Linked DNA regions of Homo sapiens: region 1 is linked to region 2. Evidence: promoter capture Hi-C in 16 types of primary human blood cells and fetal thymus (Javierre and others, 2016). All regions are on one chromosome and are shown on one strand. Each heading gives the region's core, a stretch centred on a gene start or on the middle of the fragment in contact. The rest is flanking DNA. Distances are from core to core; before and after follow the strand shown. Region 1 has its middle 4.7 kb from the start of SMG9. Region 2 holds the start of PHLDB3 (pleckstrin homology like domain family B member 3).

What was found. The method cuts DNA at HindIII sites, captures the fragments that hold promoters and counts their contacts. A CHiCAGO score of 5 or more calls a contact.
Region 1: a contact is called between a fragment that was not itself captured here and the fragment with the promoter of PHLDB3 in region 2, in 1 of 17 cell types (naive B cells). The highest score is 5.2, in naive B cells.

The regions. Positions count from the first base shown.
Region 1 is chr19:43,756,171-43,763,235 of GRCh38, reverse strand. No RefSeq gene overlaps it. Among named protein-coding and RNA genes, the nearest start is that of SMG9, 4.7 kb to the right of the region's middle. The HindIII fragment of the contact is 1,951 bases long and covers 655-2,605 here.
Region 2 is chr19:43,499,831-43,507,290 of GRCh38, reverse strand. PHLDB3 (pleckstrin homology like domain family B member 3) reads left to right here and starts at 2,545. Exons shown (of 16, transcript NM_198850.4): 1 at 2,545-2,702; 2 at 3,159-3,385; 3 at 5,008-5,190; 4 at 5,420-5,557. The coding sequence starts at 3,173. ETHE1 (ETHE1 persulfide dioxygenase) reads left to right here. Exons shown (of 7, transcript NM_014297.5): 7 at 389-572. The coding sequence ends at 441. RefSeq lists silencers at 2,349-2,408, 3,009-3,258 and an enhancer at 2,887-3,409. The HindIII fragment of the contact is 22,316 bases long and covers 1-7,460 here.

The sequences.
Region 1 (7,065 bases), core at 381-2,880, 260 kb before region 2:
AGCCATCACTCAGATCAAGCTAGAAGTGTCTAGCCCCCTAAAGCTCTCATTTCCCTCCCAGCCAACAGCCCCCTTCATCCCAGGAACCACCATCCTGACCTGTCTTGATTCCTTTTGTTCAACTTTGAACTTTGGAAGGAACCCTGCTGCACGCCCTGGTGTGTATCTGTGTCTTGGGCTCTGCAGGGTGGTGGTGAGATTCAGCCATGCTGCTCATCCTTTTCATTACACAGTAGTATTCCATTGTGTCAGTATGCCCACAAGCCTCACCCGGGGGACTCTGCAAGCTCAGTCTCTCCCCGTCTTCTGGCCTCCCCTTCTCCTCCCTGTCCTGGCTGCTCAGGCCACTAGGCTCCTCTTCCTTCCCAAACTGCCTGCTGCTCTCCCCTCCTTCTTGCCCCATCCACTCAGAATAAAAATAAACATCACTAACATTTATTCAGTTCTTTGTTGTAGAGACGGGGGTCTCACTATGTTGCCCAGGCTGGTCTCAAACTCCTGGGCTCAAGAGATCCTCCCACCTTGGCCTCCCAAAGTGCTGGGATTACAGGCAGGAGCCACCATGCCCAGCCCAGCTATTTATTATGGTCCATAAAGGAAGCTGTATCATCATCATCAACACCAGACTGGCAGTCCAAAGGCATGCTTTAAGCTTTTATGTTGTGTGGAATAGCTGCTAACATATACAAACCAGGAGAGTGCTTTTTATAATTTGGAGGGGGTGTCAAATGATAAAACTTTCCTTTCTTTTTCCAGGATGAGCTGGCCCTTCTTCAAGTCAAGTCTAGCCCCCTCACCCTGTCCACACCTCCTCAAAAAACAGCTCCAAAGTCTCCTGGTCTCTTTTCCCTCTATCATTCCCATCTGCACACAAACATGCTATAATTTCTCCCATCTTATAAACATCCCACTGGAACTTTCAGAAGCATTTTAGATTCTCCATTTTCCTTAAAGTTCACTATTCACCAAACTGCAAAATATCTGTCGCTCTGTCACCTAGGCTGGAGTGCAGTGGCGTGATCTCGGCTCACTGCAACCTCTGCCTCTCAGCTTCAAGCAATTCTCGTGCCTCGGCCTCCCGAGTGTAGCTGGGATTACAGGTATGCACCTCCACCACGCCCAGCTAATTTTTTGTATTTTTAGTAGAGATGGGGTTTCATTATGTTGGCCAGGCTGGTCTCGAACTCCTAGCCTCACGTGTTCTGCCTGCCTCTGCCTCCGCCTCCCAAAGTGCTGGGATTACAGATGTGAGCCACCAAGCCCGGCCATAAAGTTGGTTCTAAACTCCTGCTACATAGAATGACATAAAAGACTTTGCCAGACATAAAGAGCTAAAGATGCCAGACACACGGAAGACATGCTGTAAGATTTCATTCGCATGAAGTTCAAAAACAGACACAACGAATCTCTGTGCCTGTTTTTGAAAGGCATTAGATGGGTGGTTGCTTCTGGAGCAGGGGAATTGACAGGGAAAGAGCACAAGGAAGACGTCTGGGTGCTGGAAATGTTCTCTGATTAGCGGTTACATGGATGCATAAATTTGTGAAAATTCATTACCTGGTACACTTAAGATCTGTGCCCTTTATATACTTTACCACACTTAAGTTATATGTCACCCAAAAAGAAAATAAATAAAAATAAAGAAAAATAAGTACTTATACATTTTTCCTGATAGATACTGAGAAGGTTCCATAACACAGTTAGATGGGGGATCAAAAGTCATGTCTTTTCCATGGTGGACCCCACATCTGCCTCCAGCTGCTGCCCCGTGTCTCTGCTCCTTAGTCCATTATCTTCTCTTTGGAACCCTTTGATCCCATGGCGCCAGGTCATCCCCTCTCCTGACACTCCTGGCTCCATCTCAGCCCCTCTCCAGGATCCTGGCTTCTACATGCGGGATGCTCAGGCCTAGTCCCTGCTCTCTTCAACCTCTCAGCCTAGATGATCTCAGCAAATCATAGCTTTAAATATCATCTATAAATAGGCAGCTCCAAAATTTAGCATACTTGTATAGTTATTAACAAAATGACAGGTTATCTGTGATTTTCTTAAAACAAACAAAACTCCAGGGGGTGGCGGGAAGTATGCTTATATGTGGGAGGGAAAAATAGAAGACATAAGACAAGAAAAATGCAGATGTCTGTCAATATTGGGCGATGGGTACGTGGGAGTCTCTTCATACCATAACATCTTTGTGTGTATTTTTAAAACTCTGTAGTGACTGTAATCCCAGCCTTTGGGAGGCTGATGGGGTGGATTGCTTGAACCCAGGGGTTCGAGACCAGCCTAGGCAGCATAGTGAACCCTCATCTCTAAAAAATTAGCCGGGTGTGCTAGAGCATATGTGGTCCCAGCTACTTGGGAGGCTGAGGCAGGAGGATTGCTTGAGCTCGGGAGGTGGAGGTTGCAGGGAGCCAAGATCGTGCCATTGCATTCCAGCCTGGGTGACAGTGCAAGACTTTGTCTCAAAATAAATTAATTAATTAAACTAAATTCTGTGACGCAAAGTCAGAAAGTCTTTATCTACAAACCCCGGCTTTTTCCCCTAACTCCAACCACTTATTTGATGACCAACGTGCATCTCAAAGTTAAGAATTTCAAAGCTTGTTGATTTCCCATCAAAAGTACTTTTCCTCATCCCGGTAAAAAGCCTCAGTCTTAGGCCGGGCGTGGTGGCTCACGCCTGTAATCTCAGCACTTTGGGAGGCTGAGGCGGGTGGATCACGAGGTCAGGAGATCGAGACCATCCTGGCTAACATGGTGAAACCCCGACTCTACTAAAAATACAAAAAAATTAGCCGGGCGTGGTGGTGGGCACCTGTAGTCCCAGCTACTCGGGAGGCTGAGGCAGGAGAATGGCATGAACCCAGGAAGCGGAGCTTGCAGTGAGCCGAGATCACGCCACTGTACTCCAGCCTGGGCGACAGAGCAAGACTCCATCTCAAAAAAAAAAAAAAAAAAAAAAAAAAAAAAGTCTCAGTCTTCAGGCAGTTGGCCAGGACCAAAACCTCTCGAACTTTTTTTTTTTAATTATTATTATACTTTAAGTTTTAGGGTACATGTGCACAATGTGCAGGTTTGTTACATATGTATACATGTGCCATGCTGGTGTGCTGCACCCATTAACTCGTCATTTAGCATTAGGTATATCTCCTAATGCTATCCCTCCCCCCTCCCCGCTAGAACTTTTTTTAATGCTGCAAATAACATGATGTTTTAATATATGTACACATTGTGGAATGGCTAAATCAAGCTAATTAACATATGCATTATTTCACATACTTATTTTTTTGTGGTGTGAGAAAACTTAAAATCTATTATTTTAGTAAGTTTCAAGCATATAACACATTGTTATGAATGAGAGTCACCCTGTTGTACAACAGATCTCTAGGATGACTTTCAAGTCACCCCTGATTCATGCTTCCTCTCACACCCCATGTTTAATTTCTTGGCGCTACCTTCAAAAAAGATCCCAGTTCCTGACCCTTCTCAACTCATCTATTAGCACCACCCTCTTCCAGAACCACTATCCTTTCTTGCCCAGGCAAGGACACCAGCTTTCTCATCTCCTGCTTCCGCCCCTGCAGGCCATTCTCCTCACAGCAACCAGCACTGTTTTCACTGAACATTTTTGCGCATAGCTAATAATTACGTGGTTTAAAAAAACAACAACGCTTTTTAAGTTCCCATAGCCCTGACCCACATCTGTCTATAACCCTCATCCCTATAGGCAATCACTGTTAATTTTTGTTGTTCACTGGAGAAGTCTTTGTAAACATTAATTGGAACAAGCCGGTGCTTGTTTGTAGCCCTGCAATGGCTTTGTTACATTTGGAAGTAAATTCCAAATGCTTACCATGGCCTGTAAGACTTTATGTAAACTGGCCCTGTCTACAGCTCCGTCTCTAAATAATCCTGCCCTTCTTTCCCTCCCTTGCTCTGTTTCAGCCACTCTGGCCACCTTGACCATCCTTGGACAGCCAGGCCCACTCCCACTTTGGGGTCTTTTACTGGCCGTTCTTCAGCATCTTTAGATGGCTCATTTCCTGACCTTCCTTAACTGCATTCAGGCCTCTGATCAAATGTCATCCCCTCAAAGCGGCCTTCCCTGGCCACCTGTCACTCTCTGTGACCTCTATCACTGTCAATTCCTGTAACCTGACTTTTTTTTTTTTTTTTGAGACAGAGTCTCGCTCTGTTGCCCAGGCTGGAGTGCAGTGGTGCGATCTTGGCTCACTGCAAGCTCCGCCTCCCAGGTTCATGTCATTCTCCTGCCTCAGCCTCCGGAGTAGCTGGGACTACAGGCGCCCGCCACCACGCTTGGCTAATTTTTTGTATTTTTAGTAGAGACGGGGTTTCACCATGTTAGCCAGGATGGTCTCGATCTCCTGACCTTATGATCTGCCCGCCTCGGCCTCCCAAAGTGCTGGGATTACAGGCGTGAGCCACTGCGCCCGGCACCTGACTTTATTTTTAATTGAAAAATAAAAATTGTATATATTTATGGTGTACAACATGTTTTGTATATTTATACATTGTACAATGGCTAAATCAAGCTAATTAACATATGCATTATTTCACATATTTATCATTTTTGTGGTGAGGACACTGAAAATTTATCCTCTTAGCAATTTTCAAGTATACATTGTTACTAACTATAGTTACCATGTTGTGGACTGGATCTCTTGAATTTATTCCTCCTGTCTAAATGAAATTTTGTATCCTTTGCAATGTCTTCCCAATCCTCACCCCCGATTTTCTTTTCTTCCAAGCATCCTTTATCTGATGTCATCTGCCCCACTAGAATATCTGCTCCCAAAGGGCAGGTGCTTTTCCTATTCATTACAGGATCTCCAGCCTACAGCTGTGCCTGGCAGATGACTAGAGTTCCATAATTCATTCAACATATAAATGAAAGAAATGAACAAAAAGTGAAAAAGAGATGAACAGGGCCAGGCGCAGTGGCTCACACCTGTAGTCCCAGCACTTTGGGAAGCTGAGGTGGAAGGATTGATTGAGGCCAGCCTCGGCAACATGGTGAAACTCTGTCTCTACAAGAAATACAAAAATTAGCCGGGTGTGGTGGCACATGCCTGTAGTCTCAGCTACTCGGGAGGCTGAGACAGGAGAATTGCTTGAACCTGGGAAGCTGAGGCTGCAGTGAGCTATGATCATGCCACTGTACTCCAGCCTGGGTGACAGAGGGAGACCCTGTCTCAAAAACAAAAAATAAAGACATGAACAGATCATTTGGCAATGGCTCTCAAAATTCCCAATGTGCATACCCTTTGACCCAGCAATTCTACTTGCACTTCAAATGAGATAGTCTACTGACAATACTAACATATACATGCAGCCACGTGTACCAGGATATTAACTGTAGCATAATCTCAGCACTTTGGGAGGCTGAGGCAGGAGGACTGCTTGAGCCAGGAGTTTGAGACAGCCTGGGCAACATAGTGAAACCCCGTCTCTACAAAAAATAGAAAATTAGCTGGGTGTGGTAGCACATGCCTGTGGTCCCAGCTACTCCTCAGGCTGAGGTGGGAGGATTGCTTAAGCCCAGGAGGTTGAGGCTGCAGTGAGCCACAACTGTATTACATGACTCCAGCCTGGGCGAGACAGCAAGAACATGTCTGAAAAAGAAAAAATTAGAAAACAGAAACATACACACAAACCCCTGCAGTAAATGTTTGTAAGAGCAGAAGTTCAGCAACAGTCTAAATGCTCATCAACAGAGAAAGTGTTAAAGTATGATATATCTCCAGAACAGCATACCATGCCACTAATACAAAAGGCAGCTCACTGGGTGCCTGACTGTACTGCTGACTCATCACCAGGCTGGCTCCCCGGTGCCAGGGAAAAAGTGTAGGCTTGCTCTGGAGTGAGACAGGCTTGGGTTTGAATCCAGGCCCGGGTTTGAATCCAGGCCCTGCTGCTTCCTGCCTATGGGGACTTCGGTAAGGCCCTTCTCTCTTCCAGGCTCATTTGTCTACATCTGTTTTTTTTTTTTTTTTTTTTTTTTTTTGAGACAGAGCCTTACTCTGTCACCCAGGCTGGAGTGCAGTGGTGCGATATCAGCTCACTGCAACCTCCACCTCCTGGGTTCAAGTGATTCTCGTGCCTCGGCCTCCCGAGCAGCTGGCATTACAGGCGCATGCCACCACACCCGGCTAATTTTTGTACTTTTAGTAGAGATGGGGTTTCGCTATGTTGGCCAGGCTGGTCTTGAACTCCTGACCTCAGGTGATCTGCCTGCCTCGGCCTCCCAAAGTGCTGAGATTACAAGCGTGAGTCACTGCGCGGACCAACATCTGTTAAACAAATTAGGGGAGAAGATTATAGTGATGTATATAAAGCAGAGAGCACACAGCCTGGTACACAGTGGGTCCAAGGTCAATGCCAGGCCTCCTCTTTCCCTCTTTTAAGAAAATTCTACCTCTGAGGGTTGCCCTGACGTGAAACTGGCAATCGTGAGTGATCTGGGGTTGAGAAATTCAGATATGGCCTGAGCTGAAGAAGTAAAATTGGACACTGATAGACATAATACAGAGATGGCCTGTCATGTGTATCTTTATCAAACACCCAGAATCTTTCCCCAGAATCCATCAACAGTGGACTCAAGTCATTCTGGGTGACTGGTGTTTCTACCTGTGGCAGCCTGGAGAGGTGGCTCCACCTGGTACTGGTACTGGGACAATGACAGTAGGGATGAGGCCTGGAGGGGAGAGGGCTGCTCAGAATCTACAACTATCAGCATGGTAGACCACAAAATAATACACAGAGACAACACACAGTACCATTAGGCAACAGGCACTGTTCTATGCACTCTCACCCATTTAATGCTGGCGGCAATGTTGTAAGTAAGGTTATACCACACCCAATTCACAAACAGGGACGTAGAAGTAGAGAGTATTAAGTCACTTGGTCAAGCTCAGCCGCTATTTATATGAACTCAACACATGCTCTTAACTCCAATGCTTTATTATAACAGCAGCTCCAGAAGGAAACCGGGAACCAGTGCTTTAGGAAAGGAAAATGGGAACCAGAGGTGGAAACTTACTT
Region 2 (7,460 bases), core at 1,296-3,795:
GAGGAGGGGCTGGGGGTCTGAACTCCTGAGTCTGAGGGAGGAGGGGCTGGGGGACTGGACTCCTGGGTCTGAGGGAGGAGGGGCTGGGGGACTGGACTCCTGGGTCTGAGGAAGGAAGGGCTGGGGGACTGGACTCCTGGGTCTGAGGGAGGAGGGGCTGGGGGTCTGGGCTCCTGGGTCTGAGGGAAGAGGGGCTGGGGGTCTGGACTCCTGGGTCTGAGGGAGGAGGGGCTGGGGTACTGGACTCCTGGGTCTGAGGGAAGGAGTGGGCTCAGGACCAAAACTCTAGTTTCCTGAAGAGGAAAGGTTCCTAGGATTTCTGGGTCTCCAGTGGGGCCTGGAACTCTACCTAGGCCCCTTAGTTTTAACCTTGATTTCTTCCTTTCAGACTTTGCTGTTCCAGCCAACATGCGCTGTGGGGTGCAGACACCCACTGCCTGATCTCACTTCTGTCAGATGCTCCCATCCACTATTAATGCACTAGGTGGGAGGAGAGGGCGGCAATGACACTGCACCTCTCCTTTCCCACCGCATTCCCTGGAGCTCCCTAAATAAAACTTTTTTTAACGTGAGTCTGACTTCTACCTATTTTCTGGGGGAACCAATTGGGTTTCTGGGCCGAAAGGGGTGGGGTTCTGGTCCTATGGAGAGGCCAGGGAGCCTGCAAGATTTGTTTTCTTTTTCTTTTCTTTTTTTTTTTGAGATGGAGTCTCCCTCCATTGCCCAGGCTGGAGTGCAGTGGCACGATCTCGGCTCACTGCAACCTCTGCCTCCCGGGTTCAAGCGATTCTCCTGCATCAGCTTCCCAAGTAGCTGGGACTACAGGCGCGTGCCACCATGCCCGGCTAATTTTTTCATATTTTTAGTAGAGACAGGGTTTGACCATGTTAGCCAATATGATCTTGATCTCCTGACCTCGTGATCCACCAGCCTCGGCCTCCCAAAGTGCTGGGATTACAGGTGTGAGCCACCGCGCCCAGCCCGGGAGCCCACAAGATTTCTAACTCACAAGATCAAAAACAAACACAGCTATCTGGGGCAGGTCTTCTCATCACCTTGGATTAGAACACCGGCTTGCTTTTGAGCCACTTCCCACTTAGCCCTGGGGTAAGTTACTTCACTTCTCTAGGCCTCAGTTTTCTTATCTCTAAAATGGAAGGAATAATAATGGGGTGTTGTGATGCTCTGATGAGTCAATGTGTGTGAGTGCCTGGCACATGGCCTATCAGTGTTCACCATTAAAGTTACTATCATTTAGAATGATCTTTTGGGTACTTCCTGGCTTGTAGTGACAGTATACGCAATGGTTAAGAACATGGACTTTTGAGAGAATGAAGCCTGCATTTTACCACTTACAACATGTGTAGATGTTGGCTACATTTTTTTTTTTTTTTCTGAGATGGGGTCTTACTCTGTCGCCCAGGCTGGAGTGCAGTGGCACATTCAAGACTCACTGCAGCCTCGACCTCCTGGGCTCGAGATATCCTCCTGCCTCAGCCTCTGGAGTAGCTGAGATGACAGGTGTGTGCCACCACGCCTGGCATAATTTTTGTATTTTTAGTAGAGATGGGGTTTCTCCATGTTGCCCAGGCTGGCCTTGAACTCCTGATCTCAAGCAATCCACCTGCCTCGGCTTCCCAAAGTGCTGGGATTACAGGCCTGAGCCTCTGTGCCCAGCCAACCTTGGGTGCATTTGTCCTCCTCAGCTTGTATCCCCAAGTGTAAAATGGAGATAGTAGGCCAGGAGCGGTGGCTCACGCCTGTAATCTCAACACTTTGGGAGGCTGAGGCAGGCAGGTTGTTTGAGCCCAGGAGTTCAAGATCAGCCTGGGCAACCTGGAGAAACCCAGTCTCTACTAAAAAAAAAGAAATGGAGGTAGTAATCACTTTCTCGCTGGACAGCTTTGAGGGTGAAATTAAATGACTGGGTATAAAGTGTTTCACACAGCTCTTGACTTCTAATCATCCCTTTTCATATACCAGTTATTTTCCTGTTTTCATTTTCCTGTTTTCGCCCAGAGAGGAAAGGGTCTGGCTGAGACCTTTAACCTCTGCCCTCCACCCCATAGCAAAGTTGTGGGGGGGTGGCGGTACACTTCCCTCAGTCTCTGGGCAGGTGTCTGACTCAGTTCAGGGCACCCCTTCCCCTTGTCCAGCTCCCCAAACCGGTCAGGGCCCTTCTGAAGGGCTCATTAGAGGGGAGACGTCCCCATCTCCATTCCTGCCTTCCTTTCTGAACTCCCAAGGTCTGGACATTAGAGAGGCTCCCATACAGAGGTGGCCAAGACTCCTCCAGGGGGGCAGGAATGAGGGGCTCGAGGGAGACTGGGAGGTCGCGATGCTGAGTTCCACGAGGGTGGGGCCGGGCCGGGGCCGGTGGGGCCGGGATGGCCGGATGCCGAGGCCACGGGTGGGGCAAGCCCGTGGCTCCCTCCTCCCTCGGGAGCTGTTGGACCTGTTGTCCCCCCTCCACTTCCGGGCTGCTGGGGAGGGGGACCGGGCGGCCTCTCTCCTCCCTCTTCCCCTGCCACCTGTCTCATAGGCAGAAGCGGCCGTGCCCAGCGCGCAGAGCGGAGCGCGCCGAAGCCTGAGCTCGTGAGGGGGCCGAGGCTGTGGGGAGGTGGCAGTTGGACTTCGGAATCTCAAGGACTCCGACTCCTGGCTTGTTCAGAGAAGGAGAGCCCCGACTCCTGGATCCCTGGGTGAGGCGGCGTGGGCACGGTTGCCCTGCACAGTGGGGTCGGGACTAAGACTACGGGGCTCCGGGAAGGATGGGGCGGGAGCCGAACTGCTGAGTCTCGGAGGGAGAAGATGGGTCGCTCTAAGCGAATCCAAGAGATTGTAGGGGGCTGCTGGGAGGGTACAAGGCCTGACACCTAGAGATGAGGGAGGGGAGGCGGGGTCGAAGAGGTCAGTAGGGGGCGTGCTACGACCCGGACTCAAATTCCGGTCCCGTCTCCGGTGGCGTGTCGCCTTGGAGCCATCAAGCCCCGCCTCTGGAAACTTCAGGACACGCCTCCGTAACGCTCAGTTCCATCCTTTGAACTCTTAGGCCCCGCCTCCTTGGGGGGGGGTCTCCGCGCCCCGGAGCAGACGCGAGCGGCGCTCAGCCGTCCTAGGCCCCGCCCCCGGAGCTTCTGGTCCCGCCCACCCCGCAGGAGTCCCAGCGGCCATGGGGACGCGAAGCAGCCCCGAGGAGGGGACCCCGCCGCCGCTGGTCCCGGAATGCGACGTGGAGGTCCAGCCCCAGGGCCATCCCGAGGAGTCCCGGGAACAGGAGGCATCCGAAGTCCTGGCGGAACCTTCGAGCCGCGGGGGAGCTGAGCAGCAGGCAGAGGAAGAAGAAGTGGGAGAAGGCAGCAGCACTGAGAGCAGCCGCGACGCGGTGAGGGGCCCGAGGGCGACAGCGCGGGGGGCTTGGACCGACGGGGACCCAAACAGGTGGCCAGACAGGTAGACAGGTAGAGGGAAACCAGAAAGACAGAGACCCGGAGACAGGGAGAGAGACCGAGTGATAGCAGAGACTACTGAGAGAGAGATACACCAGGACACGGAGCCAGAGAGGCAGAGGCACAGACAGACAGAAACCAGATACAGAGACAGAAACCAGATAGAGCCACGGGGAGGCCCCAAGAACGGAGATAGACCCAAACGGGCGACAGAGACAGAGAGACTAGTATAGAGGAACCAGATAGGTGGCTCACGCCTGTAATCCCAGCACTTGGGGAGGCCGAGGGGAGGATTGCTTAAGCCCAGGAGTTCGAGACAAGTCTGGGCAACATAGCAAATCCCTGTCTCTAGAGAAAAAAAAAATACAAAAATTGTCCAAGCGCAGTGCCGCGTGCCTGTAATCCCAGCTACTCGGGAGGCTGAGGCAGGAGGATCGCTTGAGCCCAGGAGTTGTAGGCTGCGGTGAACTATGACTGCGCCACTGCACCCCAGCCTGGGACAAAGCAGAACCTATCTCTAAAAATGAGAGAGAGAGAGAGAGAGAGAGAGAGAGAGAGAGACCAGATAGACAGACAGGAGAGACTACAGAACAGAGAGAACCAAACGAGTAAGAGATGCAGAGAGATCAAGAAGCCAGACAGAGACCCAGAGACATGGAGACTGAGAGACAAAGACCCCAAAAAGACAGAGACACAGTGAGACTAGAGTCAGAGAGAGGGGAATCGAGACAGAGGGAAACCCAGAAATAAATGGCAGAGATGCTCAGAGAAACAAATAGACAAAAACCTCGAGAGAGGGACATACTCCGAGGAAGAAAGATCTAGTGATTCTAGTGGACAGATCTAGTGGACAGATACCGAATCTGAGAGACTGGGGTCAGGTGGAGAGACAGAGACAGATCCAGGCACTACAAGAAAGTGACGCCAAGAGAATAGGACCTGATAGAGAAAAAGAAACACCTTTCATAAGTCGGCTTTACACCTGCTCACCCTCCATACGGTACTGCAAGCCTCTGTGGTCCGTGTGGTTGGGTGGTCACGGGACTTGCACCCTCCCCCACTCCGACCTTAAATACAGGGGTCTGAGGCCGGGCGCGGTGGCTTATGCCTGTAATCGTAGCACTTTGGGAGGCCGAGGTGGGAGAATCCCTTGAGCCTAGGAGTTTGAGACCAGCCTGGGCAACATAGCATCGCCCCCTCTCTGCCAAAAAAAAAAAAAAAAAAAAAGAGCTTGGCGTGGCGGTGCGCGCCTGTAGTCACAGCTACCTAGGAGGATGAGGCAGAAGAATCGCTTGAGCGAGGGAGGTCGATGCTGCAGTGAGCCGTAATCGCGCCACTGCACTCCAGCCAGTGAGACCCTATCTCAGGACAAAAAAAAAAAAAAGATAAGAAAGAAAAAGAAAAGAGCCTGCGACAGATTATGGGAGTGGTGGTTGTGTTAGGTAAGTGGACTGATGGACTGAGACCCGCAGAGGGTGATGTTGGGTGGGGACCAGACCTACTTAGTGATTGCAGGGGGCGAGGCATCTCCACTTAACCACGCCCCCCTCAACTTCAGCCCGAGGCTACGCCTCCGATAGCTATGGCGGCCACACCTCCCGCATCCACCTCTTCGCGGGAAGGGGTGCGAGGGGCGGCGCGGCGCCTGCAAGGACAGCAGCTGGAGGCATTGACTCGTGTGGCCCTGATGGAGCAGCGAGTGAAGGAGCTACAGCGCCAGAGGAAGGAGCTGAGGATCGAGGTGAGGCTGCGGACCCCTTGGGAAGCCTGGCCCCAACTCAAGCGGAACCCGCAAAGCCGGACTCCCAGCTTTTTCCTCGGGTGGGATCAGATTTTAGGCCCTCCGCTCTTCCTCCCTCCAAATTCAGGTCCCTGGAGTCCATCCTCCCTTCGAATCCGGTAGTTCAGGCCCTGGGCCTCTTCCTTGGACCTAGGCGTCCGAGCCCCCAGCCCTGGCATTCTCTCCGCAGATGGAGGTGGAGGTGGCCTTGCTGCGGGGTGAGCTGGCTGGGGAGCGAGTGGCCGCTCGCCGGGAGGAGGAGCAGCTGCGGGAGCTGCTGGAGCAGCAGGCGGCCTCGGAGCAGCGCGGCCGCCAGCAGCGGGAACAGGTCTGTTTGGCTCACCGGGTCTTCATCAGCAGTGTCCTTCCTGGTCCATGGATGTTGGTGTGCTCCTAGCCACCTGCGCCCCGGGGTTGTCCCCATTCCCCAAAGGAAGACATTTGGGCTCCTGAGAGAGTGAGGGGCAGATGCCCCTCCTGGTTTTCCTTCTCCCTCCCTGGGCGAGATTTTTGGGGCTCTTCCTTTGTCCCCTGTCCGTTTGCTATTTAAATGTGGGTGTGTAAAAACTTCCAAACTGGCCGGAAGCAGTGGCTCACGCCTGTAATCATAGCACTTTGGGAGGCCGAGGCGGGCGGATTGCCTGAGCTCAGGAGTTTGAGACCAGCCTGGGCAACATGGCGAAACCCCGTCTCTGCTTAAAAATACAAAAATTAGCAGGGCGTGGTGGCGGGCGCCTGTAGTCCCAGCTACTTGGGAGGCTGAGGCAGGAGAATCGCTTGAATCCGGGAGATGGAGGTTGCAGTGAGCCAAGATCGCACCATTGCACTCCAGCAGCCTGCGTGACAAGAAGGAGACTCCGTCTCAAAAAAAAAAAAAAAAAAAAAAGAGAAAAAGAAAACTTCCAAACCCACCCCACAATAGTCAGGCAGCTCCCATGTCCTGTGCCCACCAGCTTCATCAATGATTAATATTCTTACATTCTTGTTTCATTATCTCCAATTTGTTCTCGTCCCCAGTTTTAAAAGCCAATCCCAGACATCATATGGTCTGTACATATGTTTAGAGTGTATCATTGACAGATAAGAAATCCTTTTAGGCTGGGCCAAGTGGCTCACACCTGTAATCCCAGTACTTGCGGGGTGGGGGGGGGGTACGGGGGGCGGGGCAAAGTGGGAGGATCGCTTGAGGCCAAGACTATGAGACCAGCCTGGCAATATTATAATAAGACACCGTTTCTGTGAAAAATAAAAATACAAAAATTAACCAGGCATGGTGGCATGTGCCTGTGGCCTCAGACTCAGAAGAGTGAGGTGGGAGGATCAATTGAGCCCAGAAGGTAGAGGCTGCAGTGAGCTGTGATTATAACATTGCACTCCAACCTGGGCGATAGAGCAAGACCCTGTCTCAAAAATAAAAAATTAATAAGTTCTTAGTATTGTCTTATTTCTGGTTAGTTTTTGTGTTTCCCAGACAGTCTCAAAATGCCAGTTAACAGGTGGCTTGTTTGAATGAAGTCCCCAAAGTTCAGTGTGATTGGCTGATACGTCTTGCCCATTGTTTTATCTCTGGTGGTTCCTACCCGCTGTGTCTTCCCCATACTGTTTATTGGAAAAATCCAGTCTTCTGTCCTATAGGCAGAGCATGGCTGATCGCATGCCTGTGGTGCCCTTGAACATGCCTCTGTTTCTGCAAGTGGGTGTTGGTTAGAGGGAGAGGTTTGATCGTATTCAGAAGTGCTTTAGTGCTTCCTGAGCCAGTGTTGGGAACCTCATCTCTGGTTGTCCCGACCTAATAAGATCACCCTAGTCTCTTTTTTTTTGCGAGACACAGTTTCGCTCTTGTTGCCCAGGCTGGAGTGCAATGGCGTGATCTTGGCTCACCGTAACCTCTGCCTCCCAGGTTCAAGCGATTCTCCTGTCTTAGCCTCCCCAGTAGCTGGGATTACAGGCATGCACCACCATGCCCGGGTAATTTTGTATTTTCAGTAGAGATGGGGTTTCTCCATGCTGGTCAGGCTGGTCTCGAACTCCTGACCTCAGGTGATCTGCCCGCCTTGGCCTCCCAAAGTGCTGGGATTACAGGTATGAGCCACCGCAGTTCGAGGCCAGCCTGGCCAACATGATGAAACCCCATCTCTACTAAAAATACAAAAAATTAGCTGGGCGTGGTGGCAGGCACCAGTAATCCCAGCTATTCGGGAGGCTGAGGCAGGAGAATTGCTTGAATCCGG